Regions from separate parts of the Homo sapiens genome. Here all the other regions are linked to region 1. The links are contacts of gene promoters, found by promoter capture Hi-C in blood cells and fetal thymus (Javierre and others, 2016). All regions are on one chromosome and are shown on one strand. Each heading gives the region's core, a stretch centred on a gene start or on the middle of the fragment in contact. The rest is flanking DNA. Distances are from core to core; before and after follow the strand shown.

Region 1 (4,239 bases), core at 660-3,159:
ACTCAGGGCCAGGGTCTGTCACAGAGAGAGGGAGAGAGGGGAATTGTGGACAAACATCTTTATCATGGTTTCTGAGGGAAGGAAAGAGTGAAATAAGGCAAGCAGATATAGGATAGGCTAATTTGGATAATTTCAGCGGGTTCTGAAGTACAGGGGCTGTAACTAGTTGTTTGGTGCCTAGCCCTGGACAGGTGTATAGTGTCCCGCGTGTGAGAGCCTGCTAACGGAAGTGGTTGGGGGTATGCAGTTAATAGACTGCTGGAGAAGGGGAACTGACCAGCCTCCAGCCTGAGCCTCAAAACTGGGTCAAGGCAGCATGAAAAAACTGCTACATTACAGCTATTTTATGGGTTCTTTGGAGACCTGAGATATGAGAGCATGTCTCATCTGCAGTCCCTTTGTTGTCCGTGAAGTCTTTCTTCTGACTATATCAGGCACACGCACGCACAGATTCTGCTACATCTGAGAGTACTAAGCTGTCTCCTGCGCTTCTCACATCTGACACTGAATTATACATGACACCATCATCAGCAAAGGACAGGGCGCTGGGAGCACCACGCAGAACCTAAGCTATTGGAGGGTGGGAAAAGCAGCAGCAGAGCCTAGGAGTAGAGGACAAAGCGTTTCCAGTGTAACAGAATAATGTACTATCTGCGGCCGGGACTAGGGTGAGCAGAGTGAGGCGCTCAGTGAGGGTGCAACATTTAAGAGGTGCCATAAAATTCAGCAACTAAAATACATAATAGGTGGCTCACTCCTGTAATCCCAGCACTTTGGGAGGCCAAGGCGGGCGGATCACGAGGTCAGGAGTTTGAGACCAGCCTGGACAACATGGTGAAACCCCGTCTCTACTAAAAATACAAAAATTAGCTGGGCGTGGTGGCGCACTCCTGTAATCTCAGCTACTCATGAGGCTGAGGCAGAAGAATCGCTTGAACCCGGGAGGCGGAGCTTGCAGTGAGCCGAGATCGCGCCACTGCACCCCAGAGCGAGACTCTGTCTCATAAAAAAACAACAACAACAAAAAAAACCACCATAATATTTAATACGGTATTTTAAAAAATACATAAAAACGTTTATATAGGGTGCACAAGTTCCCTTTTGCCTAAGAGTTCAACGTGGCTCAGCGGGGCACTGGTGCTAAGCAGTCGCAGCTTCTAGTCTCCTCCTAGGGCCCGGAGCAGCCCCCAAGGAAAGGCCTTCCCTAGGAAGAAGTAGCCCTTCAGCCCAGCCTAGAAGAAGGAGCTGAATCAAACCAAGGCAGGACGATGAGGCGTGGCGTGTACTGACAGGGAAGAAGAAACAGCAAATATTTGAGTCCAAGATGCCTGGAGGGAAAAGAGCTAGAGGACTATTTGGGGGAATGGTCTTGGCAACACGGTTCTAGGCAGGTACCACGATCATATAGGGACTCTGTAGAATTTTAAGTAGGGAGGCAAGCGCCCAGGTTTGTTTCTTATGCAGAAAGTGCTGAGCAACGGACAGACTGAAGAGGTTAGGTCTGGATCCAGGTAAACCCTTTATGAGGCTAACGCACTAGCTGAATGAGGGATGACAGCATCCCACCTAGACAGGTGCAGACAGATTCCCGAGGTTCAGGTTCGGACTTCAGTTTCTCCGCTGGAACGCTGAGGGTGGGGCAGCACCCGGGTCCCTGCCCTGCAAACGGGGCCGCTGCAGGGTTCCTTTGGCGGGGCCGGTGCCCCGGGGAGCGCGCAGGACGCGCCCGCCTTCAGCCGGGGGCCAGGGCGAGCGGGACGGGGCGGGCCCGCGGGTGCCCTGACCAGCTCACCGCCCAATCGCTGCGGGCCCGCCGAGCCCCGGGGGGCTGGGGCCGCCGCCGCCGCCGCCAGAACGTGCCGCGGCTGCGCCAACGCGCGAACGCCGGGCAGGGCGGCGGGCGCGCTCAGTCTGGCGGCGGCTGCCGTGAGCTGACTGACGTTCCGGGAACGCCGCAGCAGCCCGCGCCGCCCGCAGCCTAGCCGAGCCGCGCCGCCCGGGCCTCGCCCGCCCGCCTGCCCGCCATGGTGTCATGGATCATCTCCAGGCTGGTGGTGTAAGTGGCCTTCTCCCCCGCGCCCCTCCGTCCCCTCCCTCCCCGCCCCCGGCCCCGGGCTGCGCGCGCCCCTACAGCGCCCGGTCCCAGTGGCTCGGGCTATTAATACCCGGCGCAGCTAAATTTAGCAGGTACAGTAGCCGCCGAGGACGCCTGCGGGCGGACGGGCGGCGCAGGACGCGGCTGCTGCCCAGGAGGCAGCCGGCGCCGGCGGCCGCTTGCGGGGGGCTGGGCCGGGACGGCGAGGGCTGGGGCGCTCGGGGGTTCCGTGGGGGCTGCGTCTCGCCGCGCGCTGGCCGCTTTGTTCCTCAGCTCGGTCGATTTGCAGAGGCCCCGAATGGGCGCACCGCGGACACGCGTCTCTCTCCTTTGGCAGAAATGTGAGGTCGCCCGGCGCCGCGCCCCGCCGCCCCAGCTTTTGTCAGGTGGAAAGGACAGCGCAGACGAACCAGGGGCGCTGCCTGGAGGGTCAGCGCGGAACGGGTGGAGAGGCAGAGGCGGGGCTCCCAGTGGGGTTGGAAAAATCCTCCTTTTTAGGTGTCTGCATCGACAGCGGCAAAGGCAGCTGGGACATGGGAAGACGCATGTGAATCTTGGAGTAAACGCCTGGAGCCCCCGGCTCCGACTCCTTTTGCAGGGGATTGAGAGACAGGGGCAGGTACCTCCAGGAATGCACGGGAAATTTTCAAGTGACAGCCACCCGCATGGTGGCGATGACACCTCCCAGGCCTTGCAGGAGAGCGCAGAGTCATCTAGGGTGAGGTCTGTGTGAAGTCATTGGGGGTGGGCGTGGGGGCCGATTTTCTCCTTCAAGCCCCAGGACCTGTAGGCGTTTGAAGAGCTTCCCCGGTGGATTTATTCTCCTTTGGAGATAGACGTGGCTGTTCCAAGTCCCTGTTCTTCCCTAACCATCCTGGCCTGAGTCAGAACAGATTTGCCACCTGCTGTAGCTAGCAGGGGCTGAAATGGGTGTGGGGAGTCTAAGGCGGGGAGGAGGGTGGCAGGCACCTCGGGCTTTTTCTTTGTCTGAGAACACGGGGCTCTGGACCCCAGTGATTGTGCACCATCACTCCCCACGTTTTGAAACACCACCCATCTCCCTTCCCTTCTTTACTGATTTTCCCTTCCGAAGTGGATCTCAGCATTGTCTCCCGCCACCATTCAGGGCTTTCCTCCCAAAGCCAGTGTCTGTGCCTCTCAGCCCCCAAGTCATTCCGTGAAGGCCTCTCCACAGCTGTTCCTGACTGCGGGGTGTTTGCGCTGCACCTTGAGGTGGCATGTTAAATATTTAGAAGATTTCTGCTGGCAGAGCCGACATGAATAATACAGGAAAGTGGCTGACACGCCTTGCCCAGCCTCATGCCTGACCAACACTGTCTTGCCTTCAGGGTGGTGTTTCCTCTCTGGGATCGATATTGCCAGTGGCTTCTGGGAAGCCCTCAGGGTGGGGCTGGAGAGTTGAGCTGGCCTGGCTGGTGGGCTCTCTGTAGGTCCTGCTGGGCTGGGAGTGAGGGCATCTGATCCTGGGTCATGTGACTATCATTAGTTTTATTAGCACTGGGTCATGTGACTATCATTAGTTTTATTAGCACCTCCCTCACCCCTGCCCTTTTTTTTTTTTTTTTTTTGAGACCGAGTCTCGCTCTGTCGCCCAGGCTGGAGAGTGCAGTGGCACAGTCTCGGCTCACTGAAGCCTCCGCCTCCTGGGTTCAAGCGATTCTCCTGCCTCAGCCTCCCGAGTAGCTGGGATTACAAGCGCCTGCCACCACGCCCAGCTAATTTTTGTATTTTTAGTAGAGACGGGGTTTCACCATGTTGGCCAGCCTGGTCTTGAACTCCTGACCTAGTGATCCGCCCGCTTCGGCCTCCCAAAGTTCTGGGATTACAGGCGTGAGCTACCACGCCCGGCTCCTCCCCCTTTTTTACAATGAGCAACTGATGGGGGTGGAGAGGAGAGGCATATATTTGGGAGGTGTCTCAGGGATGTGCTGTTGCTTTCTAAAACAACCACACTCCCTAGAACCGAGACTTCAGAGAATTTAAATGAACAGCATTATGTGGCCCAAGGAGAGTTGATGGGATTTGGGATTGTTACTTCCACTATCAAGTCCAAAAGGTCAGGGATACCACTTATCCCCCAGTCCCTAATTCCCTGTAGAAACCTAGCATAAGCATATTGATTA
Region 2 (4,239 bases), core at 893-3,392, 230 kb before region 1:
GTAGGAGTTCACAATAGTGCAATGTATATGGAAGATACTGGTATTAAGTTTAAAATTTTTAACTGTGCCTATATTTGCAGGATTATTTACTAGGGAAAAACTAGAAACAATCTTATATAATAGGGAAATGGTTAAATAAATTATGGTACATTCTTGCTATGGACTGCCATAGGTATTGACACTGATGAAAGTCTACATAAAATGTGTTTAAAAGGAAATTGTAGGACAACGTATATAACATAATATCAATTAAATAAAAATAGGGCTGGGAGAGGTGGCTCAATGTATATAATATAATCTCAACTAAGTAAAAATAGGCCCGGGCAAGGTGGCTAACACCTGTAATCCCAACACTTTGAGAGGCTGAGGTGGGAGGATCGCTTGAGCCCAGGAGTTTGAGACCCGCCTGGGCAACATGGCTAACCCTTGTCTCTACAGAAAAATTAAAAACACAGTGGGCGTGGTGGCTGACACCCAGCTACTCAGGAGGCTAAGGTGGGAGGATCACTTGAATCTGGGAGGTAGAGGCTGCAGTGAGGCAAGATCCTGCCACTGCACTCCAGCCTGGGTGACAAAGTGATACCCGGTCTCAAAAACAAATACATAAATAAAAATAAAAGTATATTTTCCAAAGGAAAAGGTTTCAGAAGATTCACACTATATTTAATAGTTGGTGTGAATCCTTTGAGACCTTTTCCCCTGAGGAAGTGAGAATGAGGGTTTAACTTTTCACAATGAACAGGCAGTGCTTTTTTAAAAACAACTTTATTGAAGTATGATTGGACATAAAATAAATCGCACATACTTAGTGTCCAACCTGGTAAGTTTTGATATTGTATACATCTGTGAAACCATCATCACAATCAAGATATTATCCATCATCCCCCTAAACTTCGTGTCTCTTTGTAATCCCTCTTTTCTGCCTCTTTCTGACCCCACTCCTATCCGCTAGCAACCGCCCATGTACTCTCTGTCACTATGTATTAGTTTGCATTTTCCAGAATGTTATGTAAATGGAATCATACGGTTCTGGCTTCTTTCACTTGGCAGAATTATTTTGAGATTCATCCATGCTGTTGCATTTATCAATAGTTTACTTTTTTATTGCTCAGTACTATTCCTTCGTATGGATCAATCACGACTGGTTTATCCATTCACTTGTTGATAGACATTTGGATTGTTTCCAGTTTATGGCTATTACAAATAGAGCTGCTATGAACATTTGTGTACAAGTCTTTGTAAGAACATATGCTTTTTTCCCTCTTGGGTAAATAGCTAGGAATGGAAGGCTGGCTTTGTTTAGCATTTTAAGAAATTGTCAAAATGTTTTCAAAGCTGCCGAACCATTTTATGATTCCACCAGAGACAGGAGTATGGGGCTGAGGTAACAAATGGTCCCCTTCACCATCCTCGGATGAGTTAATGACAGTAACCATCAGCTCACCGTATAGGCCTAATCAGGAACTGTCCGTGCTAAAATGTGTCTAGTTCTCTTTAGTCAGATTCCTTTGAGAGTGTGATTAAGCTCACGGTCAGTGTGGCGTGTAGGACGGGACACACATGGACAAATGCTAGGCAGGAATCGCCCACGCTGGAAAGGGCGATGGCCTGAAAAAAAACGACCGCAGTTGGGATGGAAAGGGGAGGGTTGAAGTTCAGACATATTGAAGTTAGAATGGTTGGGACTTGGTAAGAGGGGAGAGAGGACGATGCCTAGGGTTTAGTGACCAGGTGATGGTGGTGCAAGCAGAGGGGAGGAGTGGGTTGGCGGGAGGAAAAAGAGGTTATTTTTGGTTTGTCACCTGTGAGTTGCCTACTGGACACAAAGATGAAGCTGTCGGGAAAGTGATGCTAAGTGTACACGTCTGCGTGGAGATCCAGACTTCTGGTGCAACATCTAGGTTTAGGTGAAGTATTAGAAGCAGTTGTAGCCAACAAATTCGTATCTTTCAGAGCAATCATTTCTACACCTTACGAAAAGCACCGAATCCGTGGTCTCCCCCACACAGACATGACCAGAACATGTGCGATGACGTCAGCCTTTTTGACTAGTCTCCCACTCACTCGATTCTGCGCAGGCGTATGGCGCATGCGCAACATCCCCTAGTGCCGCCGCTCCCTACTCTGGGGGTTGGGACTACCTCCTTTTCCGCGGGCCCCGCCCAGGCGGCTGCCCGTGACCTGCCTGGGCGCGGGGAACTGAAAGCCGGAAGGGGCAAGACGGGTTCAGTTCGTCATGGGGCTGTTTGGAAAGACCCAGGAGAAGCCGCCCAAAGAACTGGTAAGGGCTACGGCGGCGGCAGATAAGCGGGTGGATCTGTGTGGGGCGTAGTGAAGTTGGTAAATGACAGGACACTCTTCTCCCCACCGCCTGCCCGATACCGCCCGGCCCCCATTTCCGGGGACTCCCACTCGACAGGGGGGCCGGAGGAAGAGTCTTTAGGAGTCGGCTGTGGGACGCGAGAGCTCCTGGTGCCATGGCTCTCGAACAGGTAGCCGAGGGTGGATGAAGAGTTTCTCCACCTCGCCACTGAGCGCGTAGGCAGCGACACCGTCCTGGCCTCGGAAACCTCTTCCCCCTGCGCGCGTTGGTACGACCCGCCCGGAACCTTTTCCCAGCGTAGGCCCCACCCCTCCAGCCCGGCTGCGGACCACCCGGAGAACCTTCTCCTGCCCGAAGCGTTGTTTGGAGCGGGCCGGGTCGCGTCTGCCGGAGGAGCCGTCTGTTCTCCGTCCTCCCTGTTGTGTTGAAAAAGAGGCTCAGTTTCCTCTTTCCCCAGCCCTTGTGTTGACCCTAGGCACATACCGTAGCGGGGCAGGGACTCGACCCAGAAGAATGTTACAGAAGATAGCTCTGGACCCGGCTTCGAACTCTCGTTACCTATTAATTGAGATAATATTGGGAGGCAAACAGTTGAAAATGCCCTGCAGTCAGTCAACCTAAGTTTGAATCCTGCCTTCCCACATCTCAGCTCTGTGATCTCTGGAAAGTTCACTTCTCAGTGCCTTCTCGACTGTGAAGCCAGAATAATAGTAGTGTCACCTCAGAGTAATTGAAGATTCAGGGATGTAAAGTTTTCATATTGGTAGTTAGGGCTAATTCTTTAAATACGGCACAGCTTTGCTACTCAAATGCCAACCAGCAGCATCAACATCACCTGGGAGCTTGTTAAATCTCGGACACCACTCCAGACCCACTGAGTCAGATTTTGAATTCTGACAAGCTCCCTAATGATTAGTGTGCACATCAGTGCTTTGAGAAGCACTGCTCTGCAACACCTAGGCTTGTCCATAATGGAAAAAAAAAATCCTGAAATCCTTTAATAAATGATCTTACCTGTTCAGCTCTAGCAGGCACATTTTAAAAACTAATCTTATGCATCTTGCAATTCCTGGCACATAATGTGCGTTAATGTAAATTTGTTGTTGTTGTTGTTAAAGGCCCTAGAACAGTAGACACTCATTATTTTCGTCAGGAAACTTACTCAGTTTTGCTCCTTGGTAAAATAAAAATTGTGGCGCTTAAATGAAATAACGGTATAACATCACTTTGGAAACTATAGAACATTATATAGATGCACATTTTGTGACATCTGTATATTCTAAGATTCTTGTTATTGTAGAAGTGTGGTAGGGAGAGATTATTTGTTGTCTTCAGTGTTTGGCCTTGGCATTGCCATTCGTAAATTGAGATAAGATTATGGAGAAGCAAAAAAGATGCTGGGGAAATGGTTGCTTTATTGTTTAAACTAGTCTCTAGTATATGTACTACTATACTACTCTAGTATATTGTACACTTAGATTGTTTTTAAATGATAAATTGCTAAGAACACGATATTGGTACACTCTTCAGTAGGGTAATCTACCTGAGAAAGCTGATTGACACTGGAAAATGGCAGGGTTGATGCATGAGATTGGTTTTTAAAACTATGCTTGCCAGAGCCGAACAGGTAAGATCATTTATTGAATAAAAAATTTTAGTTGTTTTTCCCCCCATTATGGACAAGTCTGGGTATTGTAGAGCAGTGCTTCTCAAGCATTAGTGTGCACACTAATCATTAGGGATCTTGTCAGAATTCAAAATCTGATTCAGTAGGTCTTGGATAGGGTCTGAGATTTCTAATAAGCTCCCAGGTGATGTTGATGCTGCTGGTCTACACTTGAGTAGCAAGATTGTAGAGTGAATTAAGATTAGCCCTAACTACCACCACCTTTAGCTAACATATTGAACCAGGCATT
Region 3 (4,239 bases), core at 458-2,957, 190 kb before region 1:
TGGTCGTTCATCTAGTTGGTTTCTTTTCTTAATTTCCATTAAATTATGAAGTAGTCCTAACTCAGAACTATAGTTCTTTGGTAATGGCAGCAAGTGACTGTCAGATATTTAGATTGAATACAGACTCAGAAATCATGGAGAGCCAGGCATGGTGGCATGCAGTTGTAGTCCCAGCTGCTCAGGAGGCTGAGCAAGGAGAATTAAGTGCTTGAGCCCAGGGGTTTGAGGCCACAGTGAGCTCTGATTACACCTGTGAATAACCACTGTGCCTGAGCCTGGACAATAAATATAGCAAGACTGTGTCTAAAAAAGAAATAAATTATGGAGAAATTTTTCACTGAAGAATATTTTCAACTCTCTGTCAGATACTTCATTGATCACACTCAAAAGAAGTTAGAAGATGAAGTGTTTTAATTTATAGGATGGTGCCAAATGGGTTTCTAATGCATTATTTGGTTGTATTTCGTTCTGAAGGTATTTTCTTCACATTCAATTTTAACATTCGAATGTGGTTTTAAAATATGCCTAACCATGAATGTATCATTAGTTTCTTTCTCGAGATACTGAAGAGAATAATCATGGGCTGGGAAAGAGTAAAAAAAAAATGACAAAATGTTTGTACCACATCATCCTTTAAAAAATCTATCAAGATTATCTTTTATTTATTTATTTTTGTTTTTTTGAGATAGAGTCTTTCTCTGTCACCCAGGCTGGAGTGCAGTGGTGTGATCTCGGCTAAATGCAATCTGCGCCTCCCAGGCTCAAGCGATTCGCCCGCCTCACCCTCCCAAGTAGCTGGGATTACAGGTGCCCACCACTACTCCCAGCTAATTTTTGTATTTTTAGTAGAGACGGGGTTTCGCCATGTTACCCAGGCTGGTCTCAAACTCCTGACCTCAGGTGATCTACCTTCCTCGGCTCTGCAAAGTGCTGGGATTACAGGCATGAGCCACCACTTCCGGCCTATCTTCACTTTTAAATGCCATGTTATTACAGCCCTAAAATGATGATTTTAGGCTCTTGAAATACTGGATATATCACCTAGATATGCCTTTTGATCAAACTGAGTATCAGTGCCATAAAGAAATAGTTTAATCCTGTCATGTTGAAAGCTCAAGTATTATTGTCTTTTATAGCCAGCTTGAAAAATTCAGATTGATTCTCAATTTTTCCTGCAACATGCTCAAAAGACACATGTTCAGTTGACCATGATAAGCTTGTTTAAACATTTTTCACTCTTTCCTTATTGCTTATTTTGCCTTTTTCCCTCTATGAATAAAGCAGTGTATGCACAGCCTCTTTTTTTTCCAATTGTAGAGATGAAAGCAGAGGATAATGTAATAAGTCTTTATGTACCTATTATACAGAACTAATAAAATTTATCTTTTTTTTTTTTGGTAGAGACGGGGTTTTACCATGTTGCCCAGGATGGTCTTGAACTGCTGAGCTCAAGTGATCCACTGCCTCAGTCTTCCAAAGTGCTGGGATTATAGTTGTGAGCCGCTGCACCTGGCCCAGAACTAATACAATTTAACGTTTTGTTGTATTTGCCTGCTTCTATATTATATATATATAAAAAAAGCATTATTACAAAAGTTGAAGCTCCTTTAATACACCTTCCCAGTTTCATTCTCTTCTCTCCCAACCTCTCCAGAGAAAGCCACTATCATGAATCTTAAAATTTTTATGAATGGTATCATACTATAGATACCATTCTGCGTCTTTTTGCTCCATTTATCATCGTTTTTGAAATATGTTCATGTGGATAAATGTAGGCAGGGTGCAGTGGCTCATACCTGTAATGCCAGCCCTTTGGGAGGCTGTGGCAGGAGGATCACTTGAGCCAGGAGTTCAAAACCAGCCTGGGAAACATAATGAAACCCTGTCTCTATAAAACAAGACAAAACAAAACAACAGCAACCACAATAAAATTATCTATGTGTATGTGTATATATATATAGAGAGAGAGAGAGAGAGAGAGCATGCTCTAGTCCATTGATTTGAACTACTAGATGAAATTACATTGATGTATCACATTTTATTTTTCTGTTCCCCTTTTGATGGATATTAAGGTTATTTTCAGTTTTTGCTGTGTGTAAAGGTTTAGGACAGTTGTATACTCAGAAGTAGAATTGCTAAGTAAGTAGCTGGGTTTAAATTTTGCTAGAATTACAAAATTGCTCTCCAAAGAAGCTTTACTAATTTATATTTCCAGCAGCAGTTCATGAGTTCTTTTTTTCCATACCTTTTCACCTTTTTGACTTGGTATTGTCAGACTTTTTTATTTTTGAGAAATGTTATCTTGTGTTAATAGTTCTCTCAGAGCTACTAAACTCGAGCATTCTCTTTTCTTTGCCCTTTCTTCCTGTGTCCTGATTCCAAAATACCTTTTCAGCCAGTTATCGTCATAGTAAGTAATCATTAGTCTGCATGCAAAAACTCTTTTATCATACACTTTCAGCAGTATACATAACAAAAGCTTCCCTGTGCACTGCACATAAGAGCCTATCGTTTAAATGTACACCCATAACAATATGTTAAGTTGTTCATTTCATATATACTGTAGCTTTACCAGAATTGAAAAGTAAAGTATTTGCTCTTTGGCCTCTGAATGTTAAGGTGCTCGAGGGCTCTATTCTAGATCCTCTGCTCCTTTCCATCTTTACTCCCAGTAGTCGATCTTATCTAACCCCATGCCTTTAAATGCCATTGAGTTTTATCTTCAGGGCTGACTTTATCTCTAAGTGCGTAATTGGCATCTCCACTCAGATGTCTCAAGGGGTATCTCAAAATTGATATAAAAAAATCTTGATTTTCCTTCTCCCACCACTTTGTCTTCTTCCAGTCTTTCTACTATGAGAATTTTTTTTTATTTTAATTTTTGGCATCATTAAAAAATTAAACATATGTATACTCTGGGTTACCTTATAATTGATGAGTTTCATGAGACTTGAATCCCCCATTTGCATTTTTGTTTATGAGGTTTGGTGTCAAATTTCACTGTGGCAATCCAGTGTGAAAAGAGCAAAACCCAACTTACTGTGTAAATGTCCTTGCCGAGGGAATCCCATCTGATGCAAGGATTTTAAGTAGTTTTTTTTTTTTTTTTTGAGACAAGATCTCGCACTGTCGCCCAGGCTGGAGTGCAGTGGTGCCATCTCGGCTCACTGCAACCTCAGTAGTCTTAATGGAGAAAAGCGGGAAAGGAGTCACCAGACAGATAGATGAGAACAGTATATATATGCATAGTTATCAAGTATTTTACCTGTAGCGTAACCCACATTATAAGTGGTGTTTTAGTTCAGCAAAGTATCACATGAAATTTACGTTGTTAATGTGAATTTTATTGATTTTGAAGTTTTTTGTATTTAATTTTGTTTTTGAAATAGTTTTATAATTGTACAATTATAGGCATTGGGAATTTTTACCCAATTAGTAAAATACACATAATTAAAGCCAACAACAGAAAGTTATTGGTAACAGGGGAACTGCTAACATTTTATTTTTCTTCAGTGGAGGACTGAATCAGTAAATTATGATTTATTTAGGTTTCAGCATAGTATTCAGCTACAGAAAGATGTTAATGATGCATCATTTAATAAGAAAGCAAGTTGCAGAACAGTATATATAGCATGATAGCACTCTGTAAATAAGTAGAGGATGTGTTTGTGTAGTTGTGTAAATAAATGATAAATGGATAAACAGAGGTCTGAAAAAGGTTCACTTCTGAGGAGAGAAGTTGGATTGTTTGAATCATCCTGTATTGTTTTCTCTTTAACTTCTTATTATGGAAATATTAAGCATATACAAAAGCAGAGTGAATACCCAAATGAATCTCTATGTACCTATCACCCAGCTTAAACAATTGTCAACTCTTGGCTGATTTTACTGAATTTATATTCATCCCACCTAGTCCCTATATTTTCCTCTGGGAATCCATATACATTTATCCCTCGGTGTCCACAGGGGATTGGTTCCAGGATCCCCACAGATACCAAAATTTGTGGATGTTCAAGTCCCTTATATAAAATGAGGTAGTATTTGCATATAACCTACACATATCTTCCTGTATACTTTAACCTCTAGATTAATTATATAATACCTAATACAATGCAAATGCTATGTAAATAATAGTTATACTATATTGTTTAGGGAATAATGACAAAAAGCTTATACGTGTTTGGTACAGACACAGCCTTTCATTTTCGTTGTTGTTGAATATTTTTGATATTGAATATT
Region 4 (4,239 bases), core at 816-3,315, 150 kb after region 1:
TTTAAATCCATGAATTTAAAAAGATCTGTTCTTATGAGTTACAGCTGCATAACAGGCCACCTTGAGCTTGGGGTAAAATAACAGTATTTATTGCCTTACTCAGTTCTGGAAAATTTTTGCTCAGAGACCCTCATGAAGTTGCAGTCAGATAGTTACTAGGTCTACAGTCATCCCCAAGTCTTCTTTACTCTCATGTGTGGCAGTAAATACTGGCTGCAGCTGACACCTCAGCAGGGACTGTTGGCTGGATCACCCATCTGTGGCATCTTTAAGTGTCTGGACTTCCATACACTTTGGTGGCTGGGTTCCAAGGGCAAGTGTGACAAGAGGCAGAGCTAGGTAGAAGCTGTATCCTTTTTATGTCTTAGTCTCAGGAGTTACAGAGCATCACTTTCACTGCCTTCTATTAGTGAATTAGTAACAAAGGCCTGCCCTTGTTTAAGGGAAGTGTACATAAAACTTATTATTGTTGGGAGAGGGGCACGTTTCTGGAACAGCATGTGGTATAGGAAGTATTGTTGCAGTCAATTTTGGATATTATCCTCAGCCTTCTGGACCCAACTGACATCCCTCCCACATGCACATCCCTCCCACTCACAACCTTCTCCAAGACTCTCCAGAGTCTAATGCCATCAAAGCATCAGCATTAGGAACAAGATCTTGTCATCTGAATCAGATCCTACTATGGATAAGACATCTTGAATGTGGTCCCTAGGGTATAGCTTCTTAAACACTTTTTTTGGTGATCTAAAGCCCTGTAAACTAAAGAGACAAATTATCTGCTCCCCATACATTCAGCATATGGTGGTATGACAGACACAGGATAATCACTCTAGACACTCCTATTCAAAAAGGCAGAAACTAAGAGGCACACAGCAGTCACCATTCCATAACAAGTGTAAAATTCAGCTGGCCCTATGTTTCTAATTCCTTGATGAGAGCTCAGTCCTACTGCTTGGGAATGATTCTCCTCAGCTCTTGGTTCTACCCTTTGGGCTCCTGGTTTTACACTTGAATTATTCTTCCGTTTCCAGAATATGTTGTCTGTTACAGCTGAATTGTTTCACAGCCTACTTCCTGTCTGTAGAAGTTTGTCTAGAAGCTTCTTTTCATTTTGTCCTCTTTTTCACTTTAAATATAAGCCAGCATGTTTTTTATTGACACAATTCTCAACAAGTTTGTGGGTTTCCTGTGAATCTTAATGGGATTTTCTTCATTAGATGCATGATACACATCTTATCAAGATAAGCCCTTCTCCATTTTGGGCTTCCTGTGAGGCTGCTGTAGGTAACACCTTTAATGTTCTGAGTAACCTTATTGATTCAATAGAATCTGGGAAACACATCCTTATGATTCTTAGAGGGCCTTTTCCTCAAGGTAAAAAGACTCTCTGAGGGGCACCTCCTTAGATCTTTTTGAGATCTCAAAGTATCTTTTGGTCACACACTAGATTTGATCTTTGGCTTGAAGCCCTTCTCTATTTGAGAATCTATTTGAAAACAATAAGCAGTTTTATTTTTGAACCCACCAAATCCTGACTCTTTTATATTTCCTTTAAATTTTGCTTGAAAGCAAAACAGGTTTTTGTTTTGTTTTTTAATGCTTATCTCTGTCCTTATCATACTCAGCTAAAAGAAACCAGTTAGCGCTTGTGATGAACACTATACTTGGAACTCTTTTGTTTTTTTTTTTTTAAGACAGAGTCTGGCTCTGTCACCCAGGCTGGCGCAATCTCGGCTCACTGCAAGCTCTGCCTCCCGGGTTCATGCTGCCTCAGCCTCCCGAGTAGCTGGGACTACAGGCGCACACTGCCACGCCCGGCTAATTTTCTGTATTTTTAGTAGAGACGGGGTTTCACCATGTTCAGCAGGATGGTCTCAATCTCCTGACCTTGTGATCCGCCCGCTTCGGCCTCCCAAAGTGCTGGGATTACAGGCGTAAGCCATCGCGCCTGGCCTACTTGGAACTCTTTAGCCAAGTACGTCAGTTCATTAGGTGTAGCTACAGCTATACTTAATTTTCTATTTTCCATGTCTGTCATTACAGATGACAGTTTTGATAAACTTCTGTCACTACATAACAAGAATATCTTTTCCTCCAGGTTCCAAAATTTTTTTTTTTTTTTGCTTTTCTTTAAGCCCTCACCAACAGGCTCTGGAAGGCCATTAGGCTTCTGCTCACAGTCTCTTCAAGGTTCTTCAGCTTCTGCCGCCCCCAACACCAGTCCCAAAGTCATGACCTCGTGTTTATGTTTTGTTGCAGTAGCACCCCTCTTCTAGGTATAAACATATGTTTGGTTATCTGTAGCTGTGTAACAGACCACCCTAAACTTAGTGGTATTAAATAGCAGTGTAATTATAATTATTATATTAACAATAACAAACGTATTAATATATAAATTATGTAAATAAAAATTACTCAGTGCTTTGAGAGGCCAAGGTAGGAGGATTGCTTGAGGCCATGAGTTCAAAACTAGCTTGGGTAACATAGCAGACCTGGCTCTATAAAAAACAAGAACAAAAATATTAGCTGGGTATGGTGGGCATGTGCCTGTAGTCCCAGCTACTCAGGGGGCTGAGGCTGGAGGATCACTTGAGCCCAGGAGTTAGAGGTTACAGTGAGCTATGATCATACCACTGCATTCCACAACCTTGGCAACAGAGCAAGACTCAGTCTCTTAAAAAAAAAATTATTTATATGCTTGAAACACTCTATTTCTGTATTTTCACCCCTCAGATTGTCAATGATGAAAAAAAAATGATACAATACAGTGTGTTGGAGAAAATGTGGGAAAACATACTTTCATATTACTAGAGGGCAGTTTGGCTAATTTGGCAGTATTAATCAACGTGGCAAATTTTACTTTTAAGAATAGACCCAAAATTGTGTATACAGTGTTACTCAGGTAGCATTATTTATTTTAACAAAAATTTAGAAAAAACCTCAGTGTCCCTCAATAGGGGCTGGTTAACAATTAAACATTAAGTAACAATGGAATACCAAATCATGAAATCCCTTGGGAAGCTTTTCACGTACTGATATACAGTGATTTAAAATATATATCCTTGAACTTTAATAGAGAATTGCGTGTATATTATGGTATCATTTGTGTAAAGGTGGGGAAAGTCAGGAGAATATGCACATTTGAATAAATATACATAAAATGTCTCTGGATAAATAAGAAACTGACAGTGTCAGTTGCCTATGGCAAGCATGGGGTGGCTGGGGAAAGAAGTATGAGGAAGATTTTACTCTATGCATATTTAAACTTTTAAAATTATTATTTAAAACCTCAGATTTTAAATTTATTTAGTATTAGGAGCTTTTAACTTATAGTCAAAACACATTCTGTCAAAGGGAGGATGGAGAGTCAAGATAAAAGAAAATAGAAGGTAGATAAAGAAACATTTAAAAATACTGATGCTGGGCGTGGTTGTTCATGCCTGTAATTCCAACACTTTGGGAGGCCGTGGCAGGAGAATAGGTTGAGACCAGGAGTTCGAGACCAGCCTGGTCAACATAGCAAGACCTGGTCTCTACAAACAACAAAAAAAATTATTTAAAGAAAAACTGATGTGACTTTGGGTAGTCTGAAACTCTAGTATTAAATTTGTCCCTGATTTCCTGGAGTCAGTTATCCATTGTGCTTGCTGCTTGATACTCCAGTTAGCTAATTATCCACTGTTGACAGTGCCTTAACTTTTTACCTGAATACCTATTTATACCTAGACAGATAAAAAATGCAACCTTAAATATAATACAACTTCAGTGGCCTCTTAATATTTTCTCCCTAAGTCACAAAAATGGAATTGTTGACATATAAAAATAGATGCATTTCTGTTTACAATTTCATACTACTTTACAGAATAGAAGGAAAACACCCTTTTCTATTAAAAATGGTTCAAAAATGTTGGGAATTCTACAGGGTAGGTAATAATTGAAATACTGGGTTTTTTTTGTTTGTTTGGTATTTTTTGTTTTTGTTTTTGTTTTTTTTTTTAAGGGGAGTGGAGGAGACAGGGTCTCATTCTATTGCCCAGGCTGGAGTGGAGTGACACAGTCTTGGCTCATTGCAACCTCCACCTCCGGGGCTCAAGCTCAAGTGATTCTCATGCCTCAGCCTCCCAAGTATCTGGGACTATAGGCACATGCCACCAAACCTGGCTAATTTTTGTATTTGTAGTAGAGATGGAGTTTTGCCATGTTGCCAAGGCTGGTTCTGACGTCCTGGGCTCAAGC

What was found. Contacts are between HindIII fragments. The CHiCAGO score rates a contact against its expected background, and 5 or more counts as called.
Region 2: a contact is called between the fragment with the promoter of CHMP3 here and the fragment with the promoter of REEP1 in region 1, in 7 of 17 cell types (erythroblasts, naive CD8 T cells, non-activated CD4 T cells and 4 more). The highest score is 11.2, in erythroblasts.
Region 3: a contact is called between a fragment that was not itself captured here and the fragment with the promoter of REEP1 in region 1, in 1 of 17 cell types (endothelial precursors). The highest score is 5.3, in endothelial precursors.
Region 4: a contact is called between a fragment that was not itself captured here and the fragment with the promoter of REEP1 in region 1, in 2 of 17 cell types (megakaryocytes and total B cells). The highest score is 5.4, in megakaryocytes.

What each region holds. Positions count from the first base shown.
Region 1 is chr2:86,335,296-86,339,534 of GRCh38, reverse strand. It overlaps REEP1 (receptor accessory protein 1), which reads left to right and starts at 1,909. Exons shown (of 9, transcript NM_001371279.1): 1 at 1,909-2,056. The coding sequence starts at 2,025. The HindIII fragment of the contact is 12,312 bases long and covers 1-4,239 here.
Region 2 is chr2:86,561,346-86,565,584 of GRCh38, reverse strand. CHMP3 (charged multivesicular body protein 3) reads left to right here and starts at 2,142. Exons shown (of 6, transcript NM_016079.4): 1 at 2,142-2,281. The coding sequence starts at 2,237. All of the region lies in intron 3 of RNF103-CHMP3 (RNF103-CHMP3 readthrough), which reads left to right. It overlaps CHMP3-AS1 (CHMP3 and RNF103 antisense RNA 1), which reads right to left and starts at 3,515. Exons shown (of 6, transcript NR_183901.1): 1 at 3,338-3,515; 2 at 2,665-2,739; 3 at 2,186-2,317; 4 at 1,803-1,897; 5 at 1,445-1,608. RefSeq lists enhancers at 1,767-1,826, 1,985-2,279, 2,437-2,536, 2,547-2,716. The HindIII fragment of the contact is 23,374 bases long and covers 1-4,239 here.
Region 3 is chr2:86,524,404-86,528,642 of GRCh38, reverse strand. The region is part of intron 5 of RNF103-CHMP3 (RNF103-CHMP3 readthrough); the gene reads left to right. All of the region lies in intron 3 of CHMP3 (charged multivesicular body protein 3), which reads left to right. Among named protein-coding and RNA genes, the nearest start is that of CHMP3-AS1, 36 kb to the left of the region's middle. The HindIII fragment of the contact is 977 bases long and covers 1,219-2,195 here.
Region 4 is chr2:86,182,625-86,186,863 of GRCh38, reverse strand. The region is part of intron 1 of IMMT (inner membrane mitochondrial protein); the gene reads left to right. Among named protein-coding and RNA genes, the nearest start is that of MIR4779, 8.4 kb to the left of the region's middle. The HindIII fragment of the contact is 1,922 bases long and covers 1,105-3,026 here.